Regions from separate parts of the Homo sapiens genome. Here regions 2, 3 and 4 are each linked to region 1. The links are contacts of gene promoters, found by promoter capture Hi-C in blood cells and fetal thymus (Javierre and others, 2016). All regions are on one chromosome and are shown on one strand. Each heading gives the region's core, a stretch centred on a gene start or on the middle of the fragment in contact. The rest is flanking DNA. Distances are from core to core; before and after follow the strand shown.

Region 1 (5,719 bases), core at 1,577-4,076:
CTGAGGGGGGAAGTTTACAGAGACAGAATAGGTCCCAGATTTGAGCCTCTGGAATTTCCAACATGCAAAGCCTGGGTAGAAGAGGAGGAACCTGCCAAGAGAACTGAGAAGGTGTTGGCCAAAACAAGGATAATAAAAGTACCACTCCTGTAATATTGATACTAAATGAACTAGCATATTAAAACGTGTTTAAATTCTTACAGTCCCCATTACTTAGCAGTGTTAAGATAATTGTTAAATTCTACTTTCTATGGCAAGGTACTGACTGGCAAGTAGGTATTATAAAGGTGAACAAGACATAGCCCCGCTGGGTATGGTGGTTCACACTCCTAATCCCAGCATTCTGGGAGGCCGAGGTGGGAGGATCTCTTGAGCCCAGGAGTTTGAGACAAGCCTAGACAGCATAGTTAGACCTTGTCTCTACCAAAAAAAAAAAAAAAAGAAAGAAACAAACAAAAAAATCAAAACTAAAAAAATTAGCTGGTTGTAGGGGTGCACCCCTGTAATCCCAGCTACTTGATAGGCAGGGGAGGGAGGATCGCTTGAGTTTGAGCCCTGGAGGTTGAGGCCACAGTGAGCTATCATCACACTGCTACACACTCCAGCCTGGGCAAGAGTAAAGCCCTGTCTCTACTAGGAAAAAAAAAAAAAAAAAAAAAAAAAAAAGACATAGCCTCTAGGCTGAGAAATCCACTATCTAGTAGAGAACATAATTATGGAGAAATAGATAAAGAGAAGGCAGGTGGCATTTGAAATGAGCCTTGAAGAAAGCGTGGGTTTGGATATTCAGAAGAGGGGAGAAGGAAGGATAAATGAAGACAGGAAAGTGTAATAAAAATTCCACAATCTTCAGAGGAAAAGGTGGTGTCTGGGATGCAAGAACTGTGTAATAGTCCCTTTGGCTAAGTCTCAGAAAGTTGGTAGATAGATGCCACTTTAGGGGAACTTTGTAGGTGGTGGCTGCAGCAACAGCAGCAATTTTCATTGTCATTTGGTCAGCTAATGTCTCCTAGCAGTGTGAAGATGCCTGTTATCAGAGTCAGGTGTAGCACCATATCCAGCAACCATGAGTAATTGGCGTATCCCCCTGGAAAAACCATGTAAGATGTAGACATTATATTCTGATTATTTGTTTGGATTTTAAAATGCCCAACAAATGTCACGCTTTGCCTTTCACTTAATAGCAACAATTAATAGTGTTTTTCATAGATTATGTAAATAACCATCATTCTCATGATTATTGATATAACATCTAGGAGTTCCAATTATACTTGCAGTGGCTGCACTGACAACCATTTCATTCTAGTTTTGCCACTGACAGGTACTGTGACCTTCAGCAGTTATTCAACTCCTCTGTTTCAAATCAGTTAGCTGTAAAAGCAGAATAACATTTTAAAGTCATCCAAACACTGTTAGGATGAATTGCATAAGTGCCTGTAAGTCCCATAAATTCTTCAGAGTAAAATGTAAATTTGCAGTGAAAGGATGATAGGTACTGTCTTTCATTTCTGTGCAGAAGTGCAATTAATTACTAATCTGGTTAACATCTTGTGCATCCCTTTTCTGTGGCCCCTTTGTTTAAGTCCTGTTTAAACAGATTGGCTCCATTGGATGTAATTTACATTTTTCCAGCTGTATTTGGACCTAAGAAGAGCATCTTCACTGAATTTTGCTGTTTAGATTCTTTGCAACCAGGTTTAGTTTTTCACAGATTTACTAGTCTGGAGGGTGGAGTGAAATTTTTGCTCACAATGAGTCTTAGAGGTGTCACCTCCATAAAGCGTTCTGTGAAGAGTCAGCGGCTCCCTCTGCCACTGAAGTTTAAAGATAATTCGCCTGAATCCCTTCAGCCAAATGAAGCTTTCTAATTATGGACAGAGAGGATGAAATATAGGGTCTGGAGGGATTTGAGACGGGTTTCCAGCAGTCGGCACCAATCTCCACCAGAGGTGCTAAGTGTCTGTAGCAGATAGTCACTAATATTTACAAATGTTAATTGATGACAACACGGAGGGCGATGCCCACGTTTGAGGCGACTGCATATCATTTCCGGGGATGGCTTGAGTGAGTGTCAGAGCTGTACCTTCCCGAGTCCTCTAGTTTATCTGCCTCGGTTCCTCGCTTCCAGACGAGGAAACAGGCCCAGAGAGGAAAGTGACTTGCCCAGGGTTGTCTCGCTGGTCCACAACACAGGTCTCCTGGTGGGGACCCCTTGGCTGACACGACAGCCCCAGGAGGCAGTCAAGCTGCGACTGGTACTTCCTGGTGAGAAAGACTTGAGTGGGCAGCGGGGCCCATGGAGAGCGCTGCAGCCTGGAGCAAGTCCCCCACCACTGTGATTCTGCCCCAGCCTCCAGCTTGTTTCTTTCTGATCACAACTCGGAATTACTTTATTTACATTTTCTATCAGCTGGGAGCAATCTGTCCCTCTGCTTCCCCTTTTGGTGCTGAGCACAGAGCAGACATCAATGAATAGCTGTTATCTTAAGGTGTGCAGTGACTAGGCCAAGGACATCCGGTGGTTAGAGAAGGACGCGCCTGCGATGCCAGCCTCAAGTCTTTGCCTTCCTGGAACTCTGCTCCAGGGTCGCACCTGCCCAAAGGAAGGCCTGGAGGCGGGGGCCAGGGCGATGGGGCTGGGCCAGGCGTGGAAAAAGAGGAGCTAGGAGCAGACAGGGTTGGACCAGAGGCGGGGCGGGGTGGGGAAAGGGTTGGTGGGGATCGGAGGCGGGGCTATGAATAGACCGGACTGGGCCAAAAGGAACAAGGCGAGGATTGGGCGGGGCCAGAGGGAAATAGGGGCGGGGCTAGGCGCCGGGAGCTTCCACATGCGTCCCGAGCCCGCCAGAAGCTGCTAGGCTGAGGCTGCTGTCCCGGCGGGAGCTGTGGCGCGGAGCGGCCCCTCTGCTGCGTCTGCCCTCGTTTTGTCTCACGACTCACACTCAGTGCTCCATTCCCCAAGAGTTCGCGTTCCCCGCGCGGCGGTCGAGAGGCGGCTGCCCGCGGTCCCGCGCGGGCGCGGGGCGATGGCGGCGCGGGGGTCAGGGCCCCGCGCGCTCCGCCTGCTGCTCTTGGTCCAGCTGGTCGCGGGGCGCTGCGGTCTAGCGGGCGCGGCGGGCGGCGCGCAGAGAGGTAAGCCCGGGCTGCAGAGGGGCGGGGCGGGAGCTGGCCCGGACTCCACATCGCGGTGCCCAGGAAGCCGCCAGGCGACGGCCGCCGGAAAACCTGGTTGCGAGGGGAGGTGGGTTTTTTTCTCCTGGGGGCTTGGAGTGAGGTTTCAGTTTAAATGTCCAGATTTGCTCATTTAAATGCAGAGAAAGGGCTACTTGGGTGGGTTTTCTTTGTTGTTCCACGACCTGCATCGCTGGAGACTACGAGGCTGGCTTAGCGTATACTTCCACACAACTTTTTCAGTAAAAGATGCCACTCTTGTCCAGCAGGGCTTTCCTGTCCTGGTGGCAGCCAAGCTTCCCATTTTGTTGCCCATTTACGGGATATAGAGACTCTGGGGTTCATTCTAGGGGTTGGGACTTATCTTCCACCTCCTGCCCGCCGCCTCTTCCTCCATCCCTGTCCCCTACCCACCGCAGCATTTGAAAACCTTTCCTTTCGCCGGAGATGAAAGGTGTGTGTTGTAGCAGGCTAGGCGGCCAACTTCCCTGGCTTCGGGGCTAATCGTTTGCATCCAGAGTTCCTCACTAGCTCCTTAGAGCACAGCTTTTTTCAGCCTGCTGTTTTTCAAGAGGTTTTGGACAGGAATGGAAACAACAAAAGAAATCGCGTAGTCCTACATGTTTCAAGTGCTTGGGAAAGTTTTAGAGTCAGTTCTCTCAATACCTTGAAGAAAAACACGTTTGTGGAGCAGCTATGGTGTGATCTAAACGTAGAAAAGCTAAGCATCCGTTAAGCAAGATATGATTACAGAAGTTCACTACGTCTGTATTTCAGGTTTTATGAGTGAGTTTCTTAAATAGTGGAAATATTGCAAGAACCTTTTCTTGCCTTTCCTTTGTTAAGGTTTTTAATCTATGGCTCCTGATTTTAGGAAGTAATAAGACTAGAATAATTCATTGCAGGATGTATTGCTTAGTGTAGACCGAAGAGAAATAAGATGGAGGGTGATTTAAACAAATGAAGAAAATCCTGGGCAGAGAGAGTTAAACAGAAAGAAAGGAATGTGATTTTGGAGCCAGGCAAACCTGTATTCAAATTATGGCTCTGGTGCATCCTGACTGGACGAACTTCTCTCAGCTGTTTTCCTTCTTTAAGAAATGGCGGGCCGGGCGCGGTGGCTCACGCCTGTAATCCCAGCACTTTGGGAGGCCGAGGCGGGCAGATCACGAGGTCAGGAGATCGAGACCATCCTGGCTAACACAGTGAAACCCCGTCTCTACTAAAAATACAAAAAAATTAGCCGGGCGTGGTGGTGCGCGCCTGTAGTCCCAGCTACTCGGGAGGCTGAGGCAGGAGAATGACGTGAACCCGAGAGGCGGAGGTTACAGTGAGCCGAGATCGCGCCACTGCACTCCAGCCTGGGCAACACAGCGAGACTCCGTCTCAAAAAAAAAAAAAAAGAAAAGAAAAGAAATGGGGGTAATAATCATGCTTACCTCTCAGAGTTCTTTTGAGGATTAAATAATGCATATAAAATGCCAGGCACAGTGCCTGACACTCGAGAAAATGGTAGTTCTCTACCCCTTTTGATGAAACTGAACTTTAAAAATCTGTTTCATGTCTTTTAATATAGAACACTGTAGCCAAGCATTAAATAGTGTAAATAGCTATCTCCCTTCATGCATGGTGTTCAGTGTTATAACAAAGTGAAATCGATTAGTTCCTGCTTTCTGCCCCACTTAGTTAATATCTCTCTCATAATAACCATCTGGTTCTATTGCACTTCTGTTTCCTCCTGCTTCCACGTAAGCTCCTTAAGAACTGTGATTCTTGTTTATCTTTGTATCGCCAACACCTGCCTTAATGTAGGAGCCCAGTGAAGGTTTGCGGAAGGAAGGAGTGGAACAGTATTACCTCTCTGGATATTAGTTTCTCCATCTGGATGGTGAGGGGCCATTAAAGGATCCCCCTTCCACCTTGAAAATTATAAGATTCTGTGTGCTCTTAGAAGTGATCATCTTGAAGAACAAAGTGATACTGAATGGATGATGTAATTGCACACTTGCTCTTAACTGTTAATATGCATTTGTGTACAACTGTCGTTCCATGTGGGTGGCTGAAAGTACTGTCTGGAAATAGGAGACCTGCCACTCGCTGTCTGTGTTTCCTTGGACGTATTACTTGACCTTGCTGATTCTTTGTTTCTCTCTCTTTAAAATGAAAGGGCGGTAGTAGATGTTTTTAAGTCAACTTTAAGTTTTTTAAGTTCAAATATAATTACCTTTATTTTTACAATTTATTGTTTTCATATTCGTCTTAGGTTCTTAATAGTAACTTTTCCCTGTGGTTTTCTGTGAGCCAGTTCCCAGGTAAAGAGAATATCTAGTCAGCCCGCAGCTATTATTTGGCTGATGAACGGTCACAGAGCTGTGGAAAGTGGCTCAGGAGACAATTAAAGTATAATATATTAAAGTATAATGAACTAGTACATCAAGATAATACAAGCATTTTAAACTGACCTGTGATTGGGACAGTGATTATGGAAGTTAGATAGTCATTAACTACCTAACTAGTTATATTTCTTACTATTTCTTAGCTATGTGAC
Region 2 (5,719 bases), core at 1,120-3,619, 420 kb before region 1:
GTAACAAAAAATAAACATTTGGTATGTGAATAATGTATATTCTGTTTTGCTGATTTATTCACTTAAAAATTGCTATCTTGATTTTATTATTTATTTATTTGACACAGAGTCTCGCTCTGTCACCCAGGTTGGAGTGCAGTGGTGCGATCTTGGATCACTGCAATCTCCGCCTCCCAGGTTCAAGTGATTCTCCTGCCTCAGCGTCCTGAGTAGCTGGGACTACAGATGCACACCACCACCCCTGGCTAATTTTTGTTACTTTTAGGAGAGATGGGGTTTCACCATATTGGCCAGGCTGGTCTCAAACTCCTGACCTCAGGCGATCCACCCACCTCTGCCTCCCAAAGTGCTGCGATTACAGGAGTGAGCCACCGCACCTGGCCTCTTGATTTTAAAATCTTTTTTTTTTTCCTTAGAGTGAAGCACACCTGGATTGGATAGTGCTTGTTATTACAGATAAGGGTGCACTTTCTAGATTCTTCTCCTGAGTGGCAAAGTTTTCCCACCGTCTTGTCCAAACATACTTTGCTGATGGTATCTCTGGGCACTACACAGTGCAAGGGACAAGGAAAAAGGGCTTTTCCAGAGGAGAGTGACCTGCATCTTGGAGGAACTCTAGAACATGTTCGAGGAATGGTGACTGGGGCTTCTGGAGCCAAGGGCTGACTCAGGGAACAGATCTCAGCTCAAGGTGAGGTCATTTCTGTTTCCTGCATGTCCCTCCAGCTGCTGACATTTTACCTCTTCAAGGACTGATTCAAATGCCATCTCCATTGTGCAATCTTCCTTGATCACCCCCCAACTTCCATCTGAGACTTCTGAGTTTCTCCCTCACTAGATCTGGAGGGTAGGAGTGGGTCTTGTTCATTTTTTGTTCTCACAGTGCACTTGCTAGAGAATGGCTTGGGAAGCCTTTGTAGGATTGGACTGGCCCTCAGCGAAAGTTCAGCAGTTAGGAGAACTGCCTTAGTACTTAGGAAGCTTCCTAGTGTGAATGCCAGCATCATCACTTACTAGCTGTACTTCAGTTTTCTCATAGGGTTGTTGTGAAGATTAAATGAAGACTGGACAAAGTCAGTCAATGTTTATTTCACAATCACTGAGCAGCAAGTATTCCTTGTGTACCAGTCTCTGTTCCAGAAACAACGTCATAAGAGATCATCAAGATTATCTCTGGACTTAAGGCATATCTTCTCTCTATCTCTTTTGAGACAGAGTCTCGCTCTGTCACCCAGACTGGAGTGCAGTGGCATGATCTCGGCTCACTGCAACCTCTGCCTCGTGGGTTCAAGCGATTCTGATGCCTCAGTCTCCTGAGTCACTGGGATTATAGGCATGTGCCAACACGCCCAACTAATTTTTGTATTTTTAGTAGAGACAGGGTTTTGCCATGTTGGCCAGGCTGGTCTCCAACTCCTGACTTCAAGTGATCCACCTGCGTCGGCCACCCAAAGTGTTGGGATTACAGGCGTGAGTCACCACGCCTGGCCCAAAGCTTATCTTCTCAATGGCACACAGCAGAAGAGAATGTGATGTTTCCCAGGAGAGGTGGGAGCCAAGTGCTAGAGGGCTCTGAGTAAGGAGAGGGGGACACATTCGTGGGTCTTGGGGGCTTTTACAACTTTTACTACTTCCCAACATGTAAGCTGAGTCTTGACAAGGAGCTAGAATTTCAGCCAGTAGAAGTGGGGCAAGAGGGCATTGAGGCTGAGGGAATGGCACGACCATAGGCACGGAGAGGTAAAATATGGGAAGCATTTGGGGGCTGGCCAGCAGTCCTAGTTGGCAGGCGCTCCAGGTCTTTGGGGCTGGAAGGAGTGGTGGGAAATCAGGCTGAAAAAAGACAGTGGTGTGAGAGGAGAGTGCAAGGGAGAGCCAGGAGGTTTCAGAGCCGGGGCGAGCCCTGGTCAGAGCTGTGCCTGAAGGGGAGGGCAGGTTGGCAGGTGAAGAGGCTGTTGTAAGAGCCTGGGCCTGAGGTGGTCTGGCCCGAAGGAGGGCAGGGGTGACATTGGGGATGGAGGAACTGTGGGAGAACACTTCAGGATGGGACTGCCAGGGCCTGATGAGGGGAAGGGGCCCAATGGAAAGGGGTTGATAAAAGCCCTCCTTCCTGACAAGGCCACAGACTTAGCTGCAGTTTATTATTTAGGTCATAAAAGCTCTTGGGATCACTTCTCTACTGCACTCATCACCTCTCTGGGTGGGTAGGCAGCTCCTCTCTGGATAGAACTCTTCCCAGGGTAGGGTAGCAGAGACCTGGTTTAAACACCTGACCTCCCCTGGCACCCAGCTAGAGGCCTGGCCATCAGCAGGAACTCAGGAGTTTGTGATGGACAGGGAGAGGACAAGGGGAAAGGTGAGTATGGATGTTATTTCTTCAGAGAAGCATTCCCTGACCTCCAGGTTAGGTTTGAATCAGGTTGCCTGATTTTGCCTTGCCATAGCTCCTTGCTCTTTTGCTTCTTGGCGCAACAGTTTTAATGACATGTGTGTGACACTTGATTGAAGCCTGTCTTTCCTACTGGACACTAAGCCCCAGCACTTAAAACAGTGCCTGGTGTCTAGTTGACCCTCAGAAATATTTGTTGAGCTAAATAGACAGATTAGTAGTTGCCTGGGATTGAGGACAGGAGCGGGATTGACTATAAACGGACACAAGGAACATTTTCATATGCTCAAAAACTGGATTGTGGTGATGGTTGTGCAACTGTTTACATTTACTAAAAATCATCAAACTGTACACTTACAGTGAGTAAATGTTACTATATATACATTATACCTCAATAAAGCTGGTAAAAAATAAAATTCGGCCAGTCGCAGTGGCTCACTTTGTGAGCCTGGGGCAAGCAGATCGCTTGAACTCTGGAGTTCCAGACCAGCCTGAGCAACATAGCGAGGCCCCATCTCTACGGAGAAAAAAAAAAAAAAAAAAAAAGAAAAAGAAAAGAAAAAACAAAGTTGGGCTGGGCTTAGTAATTACTTGATCCCAGGAGGTCGAGGCTTTGTAGTGAACCTGTTCGCGCTACTGCACTCCAGCCTGGGCGACAGAGTGAGACCCGGTCTCAAAAAAAAAAAAAAAATCAAAATTTGTGGAATAAGAAAATTATGTGTCTTTCTCCACGGGATTGTAAATTCTATGAGGAGCGCTATATCCCCAAGATCCTAGAACATTAATCAGCACCTAGTAGGTGTGGAACAAACGTCTTACCTTAACAGCGAGTCAATGAACCAGGGAGGGGAGGAAGAAGCTTTCCCGGAGATGCCGGCCCCTCAGTTTCCGGGTTCGCCTGGCGCTCAGCCAGGCCAGTCACAGAGAGACGAGCCCGGCGATTCGCCAGCGGAATGTCCAGGGGCGGGGCAGCGAGCGAGCGCGAAGCAATCCTGAGGCGGTCTAGGGGGCGGGGCGTTCAGGGGGCGTGGCCGTGCAGGGGCGGGCTCCGAGCGTGGGGTGGGCGCTTGCGCACTGCCGCTGCGGCTGTTGCTGCGGAGCCAGGAGGGGAAGCGATGGCTGGGCCCGCGTGGATCTCTAAGGTGAGCGCTGGCAGGCCGGCGTGTGGCAGGCAGGCAGGCCGCGAGGGCTGGCAGGAGAGCCGGTCGCGTGCCGGGTGTGGGCGGGCGCGTGGGCCAGACAGGGAGGCGGTGGCTGCCCGCGGGGACAGCTTGGGAGCCGGTCCTGGTCGCCCGTGCCCCGCGCTCCGTGGCCGGCTCGCAGTGTATGGGCCGCCCCGGGCCGGGTCAGCAGCGCAGAGGCGGGGACGGCGTCAAGGTCAAGGCGGGGGGGCGCCGGCCCTGCTCCTGCCGAGACCCGGCTGCCGTCACCCGCATCCGCCCAGGCCAGAGCCCAGGCTTCGCGCCGAGCCCGGGAAGGTCACGGGAGCCTCTGTCCCGGCTCCGCCATCCGGGCCGCTTCCCCGGCTGCGGCCCTGCTGCGGGACTGATCCCCTCAGCACTGCCCACACCTCTCATCCGCTGTCTGCGCGGCCCTTGGCCGGGGAACCGCAGGTGCCACGGGCACTGGCGTTGAGCTTGGGAGGTTTTCCCAGGTGAGAGAATCCGGGGGCCCTTTTCCCTATCAGATTGTTTTCCCTTTGGCGCTCTTCCCAGTCAGACCTCTAGTGCTCTTGTAGCTATTTCCCCTTCATAGGATAGGGCATCTTACACCTCGGAATTACCGTCTGAACCTTCGGAGAGAGAGACCAGCAGAGCCTTCCTTTTACCTTTCATTGGTGGGAATCCTGCAATCTGGAGCGCTTTAGCTCTCCTTGACAGCTCAGATGCCAGAGCTGGAAAGGGTTTCAGATCATCTATGCAGTTCCGTAGCTTCTCAGTGGAACTAACCTGTGCCTGAAGAAGAATTTGCTCAAGGTCACACAGGAGGTCGGTGTCAGAGCAGGGAGAGGAACCTAGGTGTCTTGGTTCCCATTTCCCAAGGTCACATAGCAAATGATGGTACAGGCCATCAGGCCTCAAGTCTCCTGTTGCTATGAAAGGGTGGTCCCCTAGAAATCTATAAACAATTTAACGTTTTTCTGTAAGTTTGATACTACTTTTCTCCCATTTTTTCGGTTTAAAGAGAGGTCCAGAGATGCACTGTTATTTAAGGAAAAGATCTCTGTACTGGAATTTAGGAGTCTCAGATTTAAATCCTAGCAATGCCACTGATTGGCTGTGTGACCCTAAGCAAATTACTAAACATCTCTAAGCCTTAATATGCCCATCTGTGAATATCTATACTTACATCACAGAATTGTTTGAGTATTAAATAAAATAATGTATGTGAAAGCACTTGGTATGTACAGAAGGAAAACAAAAATCTGAAGCTTTCTTATCAATATGTTTATCTGTCTCCAACAGACAGTGGTTTTCATGGGCATCATTAACTGGTTTTTTTGTTCAATAACTAGATTCTACTTTGTCACCCTCTTCAGACCCAGATTTGCTTGTGATGATAACTCTTATGTCACATTTGCTCCTAAAAGTAAAGCAACTTCTGTGTCACTGTGAAAACTGAACTCAGTCCTTTAATCTCTGAACTTACATTTAACACCCAATTCATCTTTGGTAGGTACATTTGCCTTCACAGTGAGGCACTAAAGCAACACTTGATAATGATTGTGCTGGTAAATCTGTTTTGCCTTTAGTGTGATCTGCATGAAAAAACCCTCATAGTAGGTATTCAGAAAGTGTTGGGTTGTGGAGTCAGAAGATGAGGTTCTCTGACATGCACTCCCTGTGTGACCTTTGGCAGAGTCATTTGACTTCTGGGCCAGCTTCTCACTTTAGGGATTGGAGCAGAAGGTGGCTCAGAGGCTGACCCCAGGATGGTGGAGGTGCTGAGCTGGATGCCGGTTTCAATCAGGACAGTTCCTCTGTTGAGTTTCCATTTCAGGTTGTGGCCAGGCATGGTGGCTCATGCCTGTAATTCTAGCACTTTGGGAGGCCAAAGTGGGCGGATCACTTGAGGTCGGGAGTTCAAGACCAGCCTGGCCAACATGGCGAAACCCCATCTCTACTAAAAATACAAAAATTTGCTGGGCGTGGTGGCGCACGCCTGTAATCCCAGCTACTCGGGAGGCTGAGGCAGGAGAGTCACTTGAACCCAGGAGGTGGAGGCTGCGGTGAGAGGAGATCATGCTCCTACCTGGGTAACAGCAAGACTCTGTCTCAAAAAAAAAAAAGATTTTTTTTTTAAAACCCATCTCAGAACCCATGTACAACA
Region 3 (5,719 bases), core at 1,624-4,123, 300 kb before region 1:
AGTGAAAAATGACAAAGGGTTGGTCAGTGTAAGTGACATTAGGCCAGCTGTGTCTGCTAGCTGCCAATTGCCAAAGTTAGGATGCCGTTCTCCCAAAGAGACTGGGAGACAGAAGCTCTATCCTCAGGTGTTGGATGAAACAAAAACACAGTAAATATTTTGGCAGCCTTGAGTTTTCTCAGGCAGGCACTTTAAGAGGGGGTAGTGGGGCCAGGGTCACCTTAGGTAGGGGCCCCCAACTCCTAGGCTGCGGACCAGTACTGGTCTGTGGCCTGTCAGGAACCAAGCAGTGGCATTAGATTCTCACAGGAGCTTGAAATCTGCTGTGAACTGTGCATGCGGGGGATCTAGGTTGCATGCTCCTTATAAGAATCTAACGCCTGATGATCTAAGGTGGAACAGTTTCATCCTCCATTTTTTTTTCTTTTTTGAGATAGAGTCTTTCTCTGTTGCCCAGGCTGGCATGCAGTAGCACAGTCTCAGCTCACTGCAACCTCTGCCTCCCGGGTTTAAGTGATTCTCCTATTTCAGCCTCCTGAGTAGCTGGGATTACAGGCACGTGCCACCACACCTGGCTAATTTTTGTATTTTTAGTAGAGACGGGGTTTCACCATGTTGGCCAGGCTGGTCTCAAACTCTTGAGCTCAAGTGATCTGCCCACTTCGACCTCCCAAAGTGCTGGGATTACAGGCCTGAGCCACCACACCTGGCCAAAAATATCTGATTTTACTAGACAATCCTATTGTTATTTATTTTTTATTTTTTGAGACAGAGTCTTGCTCTGTCACCCAGGCTGGAGTGCAGTGGTGTGATCTCAGCTCACTGCAGCCTCTGCCTCCCGGGTTCAAGCGATTCTTGTGCCTCAGCCTCCTGAGTAGCTGGGATTACAGGCGAGCACCACCATCCCTGGCTAATTTTTGTATTTTTAGTAGAGATGGAGTTTCACCAAGTTGGCCAGACTGGTCTTGAACTCGTGGCCTCAAGTGATCTGCCCACCTCGGCGTCCCAAAGTGCTGGGATTACAGGTGTGAGCCACCACGCCAGGCCTTCATCATAGAATTATTGCCCACCCCCACCACCCTGTCCGTGACAAAATCGTCTTCCATGAAACTGGTCTCTGGTGCCAAAAAGCCTGGGAACTGGTGATCTTAAGGATGTGACGTTGAATTATTAGAAACTGTGTTGCTGTCTGTTCAGTCTTTATAGGCCAAGACTGAAGCCTAGTTGAGAAGAGGGCTCATAGGAGCCTGGCTAAGTTCCATCAAGAAGAGAATCACTATCAGCTTCTATACCTTAGCCCCTGCCCGCACCCCCCCACCCCCAAAAAGCATCAATATTGTGACTATATACCAGGTGTTTCACAAAGTTATGAAGTAGTTATAATTAATATCCTCATTAAAAGGTTAAGAAAACTGAGGCTCAGAAAGGTTAAGTTGTCTGCCCAAGGTTCCACAGCCAGAAGTAGCAGTGCTGGGATTTGAACCTAGGTCTAAGTCTCACTGGTTCCAGAATTCACTGTCGTCCAAAGTGCATAGCTCCATTCTATGTTTCTAGGCTCTGTCTTTAAGCCATCCCTCTCCTGCACATGCCCATTTTACGAATGCCTATGGTCCCGAGTACTAAATCTGGACAAGTATGTGACCCTGGGCAGTGGATCTCGGCTCTGGCTGTACCACCTGGGGAGCTTGAAAAACACTGATGCCTGGGCCTCACCCCTAGAAGCTCTAAGGTAACAGGTGTGGAGTGCAACCCAGAGGGATTTTTAGAAGATTCCAGGTGATCTCTGTCAGGAGCCAGGTTTGAGACCCACTGCGCTAGGAGTCTTCACAGTTATCATCCCATTTGATGCTTATAAGAGCCCTGTGAGAAAGGCAGGCAAGTGGCAATCCCCATGTCCTGCTGACGAAGAAAAGTGTTGAGATGCTAAGGCTCAGACAGTAAGATCTGGATAGAAAACAAAGTTTCTGACCTCTAGCTCTGAGTTCTCTGCCTAAAGGTTCTGCTCTACAAGGCATAATTTAAAAAAAAAAAAAGCAACATCTCCAAGAAGAGCAGCTTAATTTCTCTTGTACAGTACAAGTCACTTCTCACCCCCATGGAACACATGGAGGAGAGGTAGTACCTGCTTCAGCCACAGTACCCAAAACAAGGCCAGGGCATCCCAGGGAGGTGAGCAGTGACCCCCCTTTCTGACAAACTGTTCCCCTGGCAGAAGCCAAGGGAGGGCTAGGGGACAGGGGCCTGCAATTCTGTGATAGCGTTGGGGCCTGCTTTCCACGCCCACTTTTCTGCAACGGTTTGTGATCTGGACTCCCTGAGCACCCGTTGGGAGCTGGGGGCAGCCTAGGGAAGTCGGGACCTACTCCTGTACCCTTCCAAGGCAAGCATCCTGGGCCACCTAGCCGTTTCAGGGTCCAGGCCATGGGACCCCCTGTGCATAACACTGGGCCCAACAGCCTGGTCGGGCCCTGATGTTTGCTCACTGATGATGTGCAGAGGAGAGGGGGCAGTTTCCCACTTCTGGGAGAAGAGAGGGCACTGTCGGCCCTTGGCAGACTTGGGGGGCGTCACTGCCCATATGTGGGGGACGTCACTGCTCACCTTGAGGGACTTAAGGGTTCCCAGTGGTGGGCATTCGAGAGGATACTGTCCACATCTGGGGCCAGCAAAGGACCCCTGTACCTCAACTGGAAGGCCAGAGGTTCACCTCAGCCTTGCAGTCATGAGGCAGCAGAGGGCCCCTACCCACTCCAACCCCCTAAAAAATGCAACAATCCCAGGCACACCTTAGGCCGCAGCCTGGCTGTGACCGAACAGACGGCGGCCACACCCCCGGGGAGAGGCCGGGTGGGGACCGCAGGGCGCAGCTCTCCCAGTCCCACCCTTCGGCGCAGGGCTCCGGCCAACACAGCCCTCCAGGCCGCCTACTCTCCAGCCAGCCGGCTCCACGGACCCACGGAAGGGCAAGGGGGCGGCCTCGGGGCGGCGGGACAGTTGTCGGAGGGCGCCCTCCAGGCCCAAGCCGCCTTCTCCGGCCCCCGCCATGGCCCGGGGCGGCAGTCAGAGCTGGAGCTCCGGGGAATCAGACGGGCAGCCAAAGGAGCAGACGCCCGAGAAGCCCAGGTGAGCGGCTGGGCCGCGCCGGACGGGCGTCGGGGGTCTGGGCCGCGAACCCGCCGCGGGGCCGCCGGAACCTCCGCGAAGGTTCTAGGCCTTTGTGGCGTCACCGTCTCCTTGCGGAAGCTTCCGCCGGCGCCGAATAAAACCCGCCGCGGAGGAGCCGGTGGCTCTAGTGCGGTGGAGCCAGGCGTGGAAGTCGGTCCGGCGCGGGGCGGGGGGCGGGCGGGAGCTACAAGCGGCGGCGGCGGCGGCGACCGTGACCGTGACGCGCGAGCGGGCGGCGGGGGCGCGGGCCAGGGGCGCGGGCCAGGGTGCCGGCAGGGGCGTCCGGGGCGCTCTGACCGGCCTCGCCCGCCCCCCCCGCAGACACAAGATGGTGAAGGAGACCCAGTACTATGACATCCTGGGCGTGAAGCCCAGCGCGTCCCCGGAGGAGATCAAGAAGGCCTATCGGAAGCTGGCGCTCAAGTACCACCCGGACAAGAACCCGGATGAGGGCGAGAAGGTGCGGGGCGGCGCGGGGCACGGGCCGGGCTCCCGAGGGGCCAAGGGTTATTAAGCCAGGAGCATTGAAGGCGACGGGAAACCTGAGCCGCGTTTGTTGGGGAGGCTGTCGCCAGGCGCCTCGGGGCCAGGCCGGGCAGAGGTGGCGGGAGACCCTGGGCGCCGTGCGGCGCGGTCGGTGGAGGGCGCTTCGCCCGCGGAGGAGGCATGTGGTGCGGCACTTGGGTCCCTCGCGAGTCCCTGCCGAGCCCATTCATTCCTCCATTCGCTCCACAAGTGTTTGGGTAGCCCCTGCCGTGCGCGCCGGACTAGTTCTCATAGGGTGTGTTGGTTCCCTGTGGGAGAGGCGGCCTGGGAATCGGGAAACTGAGGCACACACAAACAGTTGTTTACTTGCTGGGAACGACTGGCTCATATTCTCTGTTGATGCATAAACCCTAGGGATGAGTGTCTTTAATCTGAGCTGGTACCTTGGACAAACGCCGTGCCTCTCTTGAGAATGACTAGCTGGATTTGTTCTGTGCACCTACTGCCTACCTGATAAAAGCGTCAGATAGTGAATAATCCCATTTTCTTTATTAAACAGGGACACGGACATCTGCAACCTGACATCAGCTTGTACTCATATTCTGGGTTTTCGGTGACAAGTGACACACAGTTGATCATAAGTACCAATCATAGACTGAAAATGCTCTGCATTTTAGAGACAGAAGTTAAAAGCTTTTCCATCCTGTTTACAGAAAGTTTGCTTTTTATCTCTAAAGAGGCTCATGACCCACCTGAATAGGTGAATTGAAGGATGAGGCATTGCAAGGAAAGGCTGCTAACCCTCCCGTTCCTCCTTTCACTTCTTGCCATTTTCTTACAAAACTTTGGTTGTTCCGCATGGGTCTTGAGAGGTGGGGCCGTTATAGTAGCTGATAGCAGTGTCACTTGGGCCACGTTTGAAACCACACCAATCACCCATGTAGCATTTAAGACCTGTGGAAACGACGCTGGAATCAAAATACCTGTCTGTGTTAGTTGTTCCAAGCTGGAGAAAGCTACTTCAGGACGGTTGGCTGAATGGCAACAGTGATGGAATATTTATATTTAGCCACATGTGCTGAATGTGGCTGTCACAAGTTTAAAATGCTTTCCTGTAAGACCATTTGTCTGTTACTCACTTGCGTTCTTTCTCATCTATATTTAGATGGCTTACTGTAGCTTTTAAAGGCACTGGCGTTTTACATGGTGCTGGTGATTCATCCACCTGCTCCCTACATTCATTGTGGTCCGCTTCTGACAGTCTCCTTTAAGGAGAGCTTGTAGGCTTCTAATTTCACATTTCAGCAAGCTGGCTAAAGACATGTGGGAAAGCCTGACCCTGGATTCAGGTCAAATCTCAGCACTCACAAGAGTAAGTTCATGCCTCTGTGTATACAGTTAGAGCTGAATATGCTTTTGTTCTGAAGCTTTTATTTTTAAAAAATTAGACTTGACCTGTACTACATATGTGTAGGTTTCACCCTGTCTATACCTGTCTGGGCAGGTTGTTTGGTTTGTTTTAAACTAATATTTATTCATAGCCAGGCACTGAGTTAGTGTCACATAAATGAGGCCCTTGGCAGTGAGGTCTGGCAGGCCCATCAGCTTGGAGGGAAGGGTTCTGTGATGTGCCCATTGCCAGGAATACTTTCCTTCCTCTACCTTCATGGAAGGGGATAAAACTCTTTAGTTCTCAGCTAAAACATCTTCCAGGAGGCTGCCTCTGCCTCATAGACTGAACCACAGGCCCAACGTGCATCCTACTTTAATGGTGATTACTTGTTTGATTAACTGTATTCCTTTAATGGTGATTACTTGTTTGATAACTGTATTACCTGCCATAATGTAAGCAGGGCAGTGACTGTGCCCCCATGGCCACTTATGGGGTGAGTATCTAGCTGTGCAGGGTAGGTGCTAAAATGTTTGTTAGCTGGCTGAGTAAATGCACTTTAAAAAATTGTGTGTAGGAGGAGAGGGCCCTATAAAGGCACAAATTGGAAGGGAAATTGCAGTGAAAGGGATATTGGGAGGAGAGTGGCAATTTAGATCGGAAATCAAAGAGGATGAG
Region 4 (5,719 bases), core at 846-3,345, 280 kb before region 1:
GTAGGGATACCTGTCACCCCACAAAGAGGCAGGGTGACAGGTGTTGGCCCCATTTTAGGCAGACTTGGGTGTCATGACTTCTAGTTCACTTGTTTTAAACCTACCTGTGATGGCAGCTGCACCATGCTGCCCTCTTGACACACTGCTGGAGCCCAGAGCACAGGCCAGAGTCTCAGCCTGAGCCCCTTCCCCAGGCAGTACCTGACAAGGATACCTGGGATTGGGGCCAGCTTTCCAGTCAGATGCCACGTTTCCTTTGCCCACTGCCACGGGGCACTAGGGCCTGCCGCAGGCTCTCCCATGAGGGAGAACGACCTCTGCAGGCCCCTCTGCCTTCCTCCTTCCTAATTGACCCTTTCTCTGGCAGGTGAGGTGATAAAGCACGGGGACCTGAGATGCGTGCGCGATGAAGGAATGCCCATCTACAAAGCACCCCTGGAAAAAGGGATTCTGATCATACAGTTTTTAGTAAGTTCACTATGTTTCATTGTCATGGACATATTATTAAATGCCTTAATTGGAAGGGGAAAAAACAGCCACCTTTCTTTCCCACCTCACCCTTTACAGGTAATCTTTCCTGAAAAACACTGGCTTTCTCTGGAAAAGCTTCCTCAGCTGGAAGCTTTACTCCCTCCTCGACAGAAAGTGAGGATTACAGATGACATGGATCAGGTGGAGCTGAAGGAGTTTTGTCCCAATGAGCAGAACTGGCGTCAGCACAGGGAGGCCTACGAGGAGGACGAAGACGGGCCCCAGGCTGGAGTGCAGTGCCAGACGGCATGACGTGGTGCGGGGCAGCGTGGCCCCACCGGACTAGCACATGATGAATGTAAAGTTGGCACAATGAAAATGACATCGCTTTAATGGCCTTGTGTTTGGGATGTCCTGTGTATGTGTTCAGCATTCTTAATTGCTGAGTGTCTTTTTGGCTTTTCTTTTGGTTGTAACTTAAGTTATAGCTTAATTTATATTTAAATGTTTTAAGTATAAATCACCTCTAGTCTGCATATGGAATCTGTTCATTTCTATTTTCAGGATATACTTTTGAGATGTCAGTGATTGCACCAATACTTTGTGCTTCTAGTGGCTTTGCCATAATTCAGTGTCACCAATAAGGCACAGCCCAGTTAGCAGCTTAGCCCCCCTAGCAAACCCCAAGGCACAAAGTGGGCATCCTGACTCATCTCTAGGTCTGTGGTTTCTCCCCTCTTCCCTTGGCAGAGTTATTGAGGGCATGATCTCAGGGCTGCTAAGATAACATTTCTGAGGATTCTAGATGATCCTCTTAAAGAATAAAAGCACATCCGTGGATCGGACATGGCTGCATGTGCCTGCTTAACAGGGCCAACTTAGTTCCTACTGTTCTGTGCCCTTCAGTGGATGGAACGTGAGTGTCTGATCATCTCTCTTGGAAGTTTTCTGAACCTTCCAAGCTCTGTGGTGAGGACAAACCAGTGTTTGAATCATATGCTGATAACTGTTTGCCTGTGACCCTCACACCTTGTTCTTCAGGGTTTTAATGATTTTCTGTTGACAACTTTTGCAATGCTTTCCCACCAAAGTGCTTACTTGTAAAGAAAACTAAATCCTTCTGTGTCCCCGGCAGCCTCAGTGCAGCAACAGAAGCCAAGGGAGAATGCTGCTGGTTTGGCCCATGGCACAGCCAGCTTCTCTGACCAGTAATCCGGGGTGACTTGAGGGTCTGCAAAGGCATAGAACTCCCCAGTGTTTTCCACCTCATTCTCCCAGATTGAGCTCCCTTCCAAAGGATCGTTCCTCTCATTGCACAGCCATATTACAAAGGGTTTCCTGCTCAAGTGATGTTTTGGTAAGAACTTCGCTGAGTTCCACTGTGGATTACAGTTTGTATGGACTACTACTGTAAATTATAGCTTGTTTGGAGGGATATTAGTCATTATTTTATTCATGACAGGTAGACTACAATTCGAACTTAGGGTTACCTCAGTCTTTAGCCATTACTGCTTATTTCTTTTCCCCAAGTCACAAAAAACTTGTAAGCTGCTGGGTTAAAGCAGAGGCCACCTGTCAGATCTACCCTACCCTTATTTGGTTACATGGCACCTGAGAGTTTCACTCAGACCAGGGATCTTCCTTAGGAGGGTCAAAGTGCAGATCAGACCATGCAGGTAAGGTGAACCAGCTGCACGGACCAGGTTCCCGCAAAACATTGCCAGCTAGTGAGGCATAATTTGCTCAAAGTATAGAAACAGCCCACCTGTGCCCACTTTGACCATTGGTGAGGATAGATATAAAATCACTTCTTCCAACGAAGCCTAGGTGAAAATCTATTTATAAATGGACCACAACTCTGGGGTGTCGTTTTTGTGCTGTGACTTCCTAATTATTGCTAAAGAACTACTGTTTAGTTGGTAATGGTGTAAAATTACATTCAGCTCCTTCTTGTCATATAAAAGGAATTTGGAGGGTGTCGCTTAAAATTTTATTCCACCTGTACATTTGTCACTTTAAAATTAAAATTGAGCTGGTATGAGAGATAAGTGGCTTTGCTTTTTCCTTTTTTTGAGAGCTCACATAAACAGTGTTAGGTGCCTGCCAGCTTGCCTCTCATTGGTTGACATAATGGAATGAAGTTTCCACCCTCATGGAGCTTTATTTTGGGGGTGGGGGTGAATGCAAACAAAAAGTGGTAACTGCTATGAAGAACAAGAGGAATGGGAATGAGTAGAAGGGAATGGGAAGAAGGCCTCTACCAGGAGCTGGCATCTGGGCAGAATCCTGGATGCAGCTGGGGAGCAGATGTCCGAAGGTCTGGAGGGAAAACATTCCAGGCAGAGGAATGGCAAGGATGATGTGGTTACAGGAGGGTGAGCAAGGCAAGCAGGAGGGAGAAGTGGGGGGCTATGATAAAGAGTGTGAGCTTTATTCTGAGGGCAGTGAGTGGTTTGAGGAAAAGCACATGACCTGACTCATAAGCATATGAAGTAATGATCAATAAAAAACACGCTTCCAAGTGTTCAGCTACTTACATCTTTCTCATTAACATGAGTCTCAAGGGGGCTGATGAAGAGGAAACTCTGAGGTACAGATACTCTGAAATAACTAAGGCAGGGCTACAGTTCTACAGCATGAGGCACAGGCTTCAGCCTAGGCATTGTTAAGGCAGCAAGAATAGCAGCCTGCCTTCCGATACCCACCTAGCGAGTTAGAGACCTCTCTGAAATTAATAAGGGGAAGGAGGGCTTGGCAGGGGACATCTTTAATACATCAAGTGGAAGGATGCCCAGATAGACAGGAGTACATAATGTTCCTATGCAGTCAAATATACTCTTTCCTTCAGGACTCCATTCTAAAATAGATTAGCTTCTTTATCACAGCTCCGGGGAGCTCGCTGCTGTATCTCACTGCATAAGTCAACTCCCTGGAAGAGTCAGCCTGTATTTCTAAGCTGGAAAGTTAAAGAAATACCTGGATCTCTTGATGGCTAAGGCAGAGATTTGCTCTTAATGCCAATCCCTCTCACTGTTTCACTGGTAATAGGGTAACTGAAAAAAGAAGCATGTTCAAGGACACCAGTGTTTGCATTAAGAAAGCTTTATGTTAAAGTATGAACAGCATTTCCAATAAAACATGAAAAGATTCATATTGTATCTACAAAATTTAAGTCTTTGCTACAATAAATGCTATATTTCTTTTAAACAAGCCTAAGAAGGTAAGGAATGTCATGATCAATCCGTACATTCTCTTTGCAGCATAAGCCTGGAGACTTTGATGTTTAAATTGGACAATCATAGATGTGAATTTCCTGGTCATCTCCAACAGACACAATTTTTGAACCATTTCCATTGTATTTTACTCCCCAGACCTGTAAATTTAAAAAAAGATAGTTCTACAAATGCCTTTATTCTTTATAATATTTATGAAATGAACATCCTTATTTTCTCGTTATTCTGAATCTACCAAAACTGAGATGAGGATGTTCTTGTACTTTCTAAATCAGTGAGAATGGAGGCTTTAACCGAGCACCTTCCATTATTGCTATTTAATTAGAATTCCTGCCCCTTCCCATACTCCAAAAAAAAAAAAAAAAATCATTTTTAAATACAGTACTAATCAAGACTATCTACAACCCTTTCAAAGAGTCAGAATCCTGAAGTGTAACCTAATGCCAGGAAGACGGAAGCCATAAGAGACCAACATTTATGCTTCCAGGAAGAAAGAGCCCCACAACTACCCCGAGGTCACTGCCTATAGGGAAAGTCACAAACTGCGCTCCTCAGCTGACCCCTTGTGTCCGCCCCCCACAGTCAGTAATTCTCACTCTGTTATTAGTGGCCTATGGAGCCTGCCTGTCCCCAGGAGCTAGACAACATGATATTGTGGACCATAGATTTTTATTTGCTATGTGTTAAATTAACTGATTCACACCTCCTTCCCAGACAGAATTGATGTGGTTGGAGTTTCTCTAATCATAAATAACTTCCTGATTATTAGGAGGTGATTCTGGGTGGTAAGCCTGTCACCCTACTCTGATTTTAGTGTTGGGATTGGGCTGCATGATGGCCTTTCACTCCAGCCTCTGACACAGCACCGCAATGATCCATACATACAAGGAAACACAGCTAGCCAGGACTTACTCCCTGAGTAAGATGCTTAAATCCAGAAGTGGAATATCAAGATAGAACCCCCTCAATTTTGTTGGGACAATTTAAGTTGAAAAATAAGCATGAACAATGTTAGTTAACTTTAAGTTCCATTTCAAAGAGGAGAAATCTATAGGACCATCTAAAAATATTTAAAATATATTAAAAGCCAATATTATATTGCCATGGACATTTTATTTTTTATGCTCAGTTCCCCAAGACCTTACAGTGTGGTTAGGACCAGCAGCCTTGGCCTCACCTGGAAGCCTGTTAGAAATGCAGAATCCCAGGCCCTCTGCCAGACCTAGTGAAGCAGCATCTGCATTTTCACCAGGTTCCCAGGGGATACGAGCACACATGAAAGACTCAGCAGTATTGCACTAGAACACCTTTGCTATTTCACATATTCACCTTGGCAAAGATAAAGTTGCTTGTGAGAACAGTTTCCTTTTAAAGACTGAAAAGTTATCAATAACACTAAAGCCAAAAAACTTGTATGAATTTCCAGCTTCTACTATATTAAAAAAAAAAAAATCACATCTCTTCTTTGGACAGTCCCAAAAATGACAAGCGATGATTGTGTTTAAGCAATGGAATCTCCTGAAGAGGAAGGTCCTTGGTGAGCCTGCCATGGCGCAGCAGCCCCCAGGAGAGGGCCCCAGACACCAGCTGCAGCAATTTCCAAAGACGGCATTTAAAGGCTGTGGGGCTAACACCATGTTTTCCAGCCTATGTGGGGATATGCCTCGTGAGTTGCTAGGCTGACAGCACATCCCAGCCTCTGCACCCCAGACTCTGCACAGGAACTCTGGCTACATGGATGACTGAGCAGATAGAGCAGCTCAGGCCCAGGCATCTACTGGTATCCACAGCTCAAGCAACAAGGTCAGGAAAAGAAAATCTCTTTGGTACAATGGTCAAACAACCCCGACTATCTAAAGATGAAATAATAATGCCATACCTGATCCTGGTGATCAAAGAAGGTGTGAACACAAGTCCTCGTTCCAACATCCCAAACTTTTACACTTTTGTCAGACGAACTATTTTAAAAAGTGAACATTAGTATCGGTTTGAAGTTGGAAGGACTTCGACCAAAA

The links. Contacts are between HindIII fragments. The CHiCAGO score rates a contact against its expected background, and 5 or more counts as called.
Region 2: a contact is called between a fragment that was not itself captured here and the fragment with the promoter of CHRNA5 in region 1, in 3 of 17 cell types (fetal thymus, megakaryocytes and erythroblasts). The highest score is 6.6, in fetal thymus.
Region 3: a contact is called between the fragment with the promoter of DNAJA4-DT here and the fragment with the promoter of CHRNA5 in region 1, in 8 of 17 cell types (fetal thymus, M1 macrophages, M2 macrophages and 5 more). The highest score is 7.0, in fetal thymus.
Region 4: a contact is called between a fragment that was not itself captured here and the fragment with the promoter of CHRNA5 in region 1, in 1 of 17 cell types (endothelial precursors). The highest score is 5.1, in endothelial precursors.

Annotation. Positions count from the first base shown.
Region 1 is chr15:78,562,694-78,568,412 of GRCh38, forward strand. It overlaps CHRNA5 (cholinergic receptor nicotinic alpha 5 subunit), which reads left to right and starts at 2,827. Exons shown (of 6, transcript NM_000745.4): 1 at 2,827-3,132. The coding sequence starts at 3,027. RefSeq lists an enhancer at 2,025-2,214 and a silencer at 3,025-3,114. The HindIII fragment of the contact is 1,607 bases long and covers 1,859-3,465 here.
Region 2 is chr15:78,145,900-78,151,618 of GRCh38, forward strand. IDH3A (isocitrate dehydrogenase (NAD(+)) 3 catalytic subunit alpha) reads left to right here and starts at 3,463. Exons shown (of 11, transcript NM_005530.3): 1 at 3,463-3,531. The coding sequence starts at 3,505. LOC124903534 (a long non-coding RNA gene) reads right to left here and starts at 3,320. Exons shown (of 2, transcript XR_007064725.1): 1 at 3,209-3,320; 2 at 1-1,833. RefSeq lists a silencer at 3,423-4,002. The HindIII fragment of the contact is 1,753 bases long and covers 1,494-3,246 here.
Region 3 is chr15:78,261,271-78,266,989 of GRCh38, forward strand. DNAJA4-DT (DNAJA4 divergent transcript) reads right to left here and starts at 2,874. Exons shown (of 4, transcript XR_001751621.1): 1 at 2,787-2,874; 2 at 2,602-2,687. DNAJA4 (DnaJ heat shock protein family (Hsp40) member A4) reads left to right here and starts at 3,292. Exons shown (of 7, transcript NM_001130182.2): 1 at 3,292-3,625. The coding sequence starts at 3,494. RefSeq lists silencers at 3,146-3,225, 3,536-3,825. The HindIII fragment of the contact is 6,233 bases long and covers 1-3,241 here.
Region 4 is chr15:78,279,678-78,285,396 of GRCh38, forward strand. DNAJA4 (DnaJ heat shock protein family (Hsp40) member A4) reads left to right here. Exons shown (of 7, transcript NM_001130182.2): 6 at 368-468; 7 at 568-2,514. The coding sequence ends at 783. It overlaps SKIC8 (SKI8 subunit of superkiller complex), which reads right to left. Exons shown (of 11, transcript NM_025234.3): 10 at 5,584-5,662; 11 at 3,558-3,844. The coding sequence ends at 3,755. Among named protein-coding and RNA genes, the nearest start is that of SKIC8, 17 kb to the right of the region's middle. The HindIII fragment of the contact is 2,950 bases long and covers 621-3,570 here.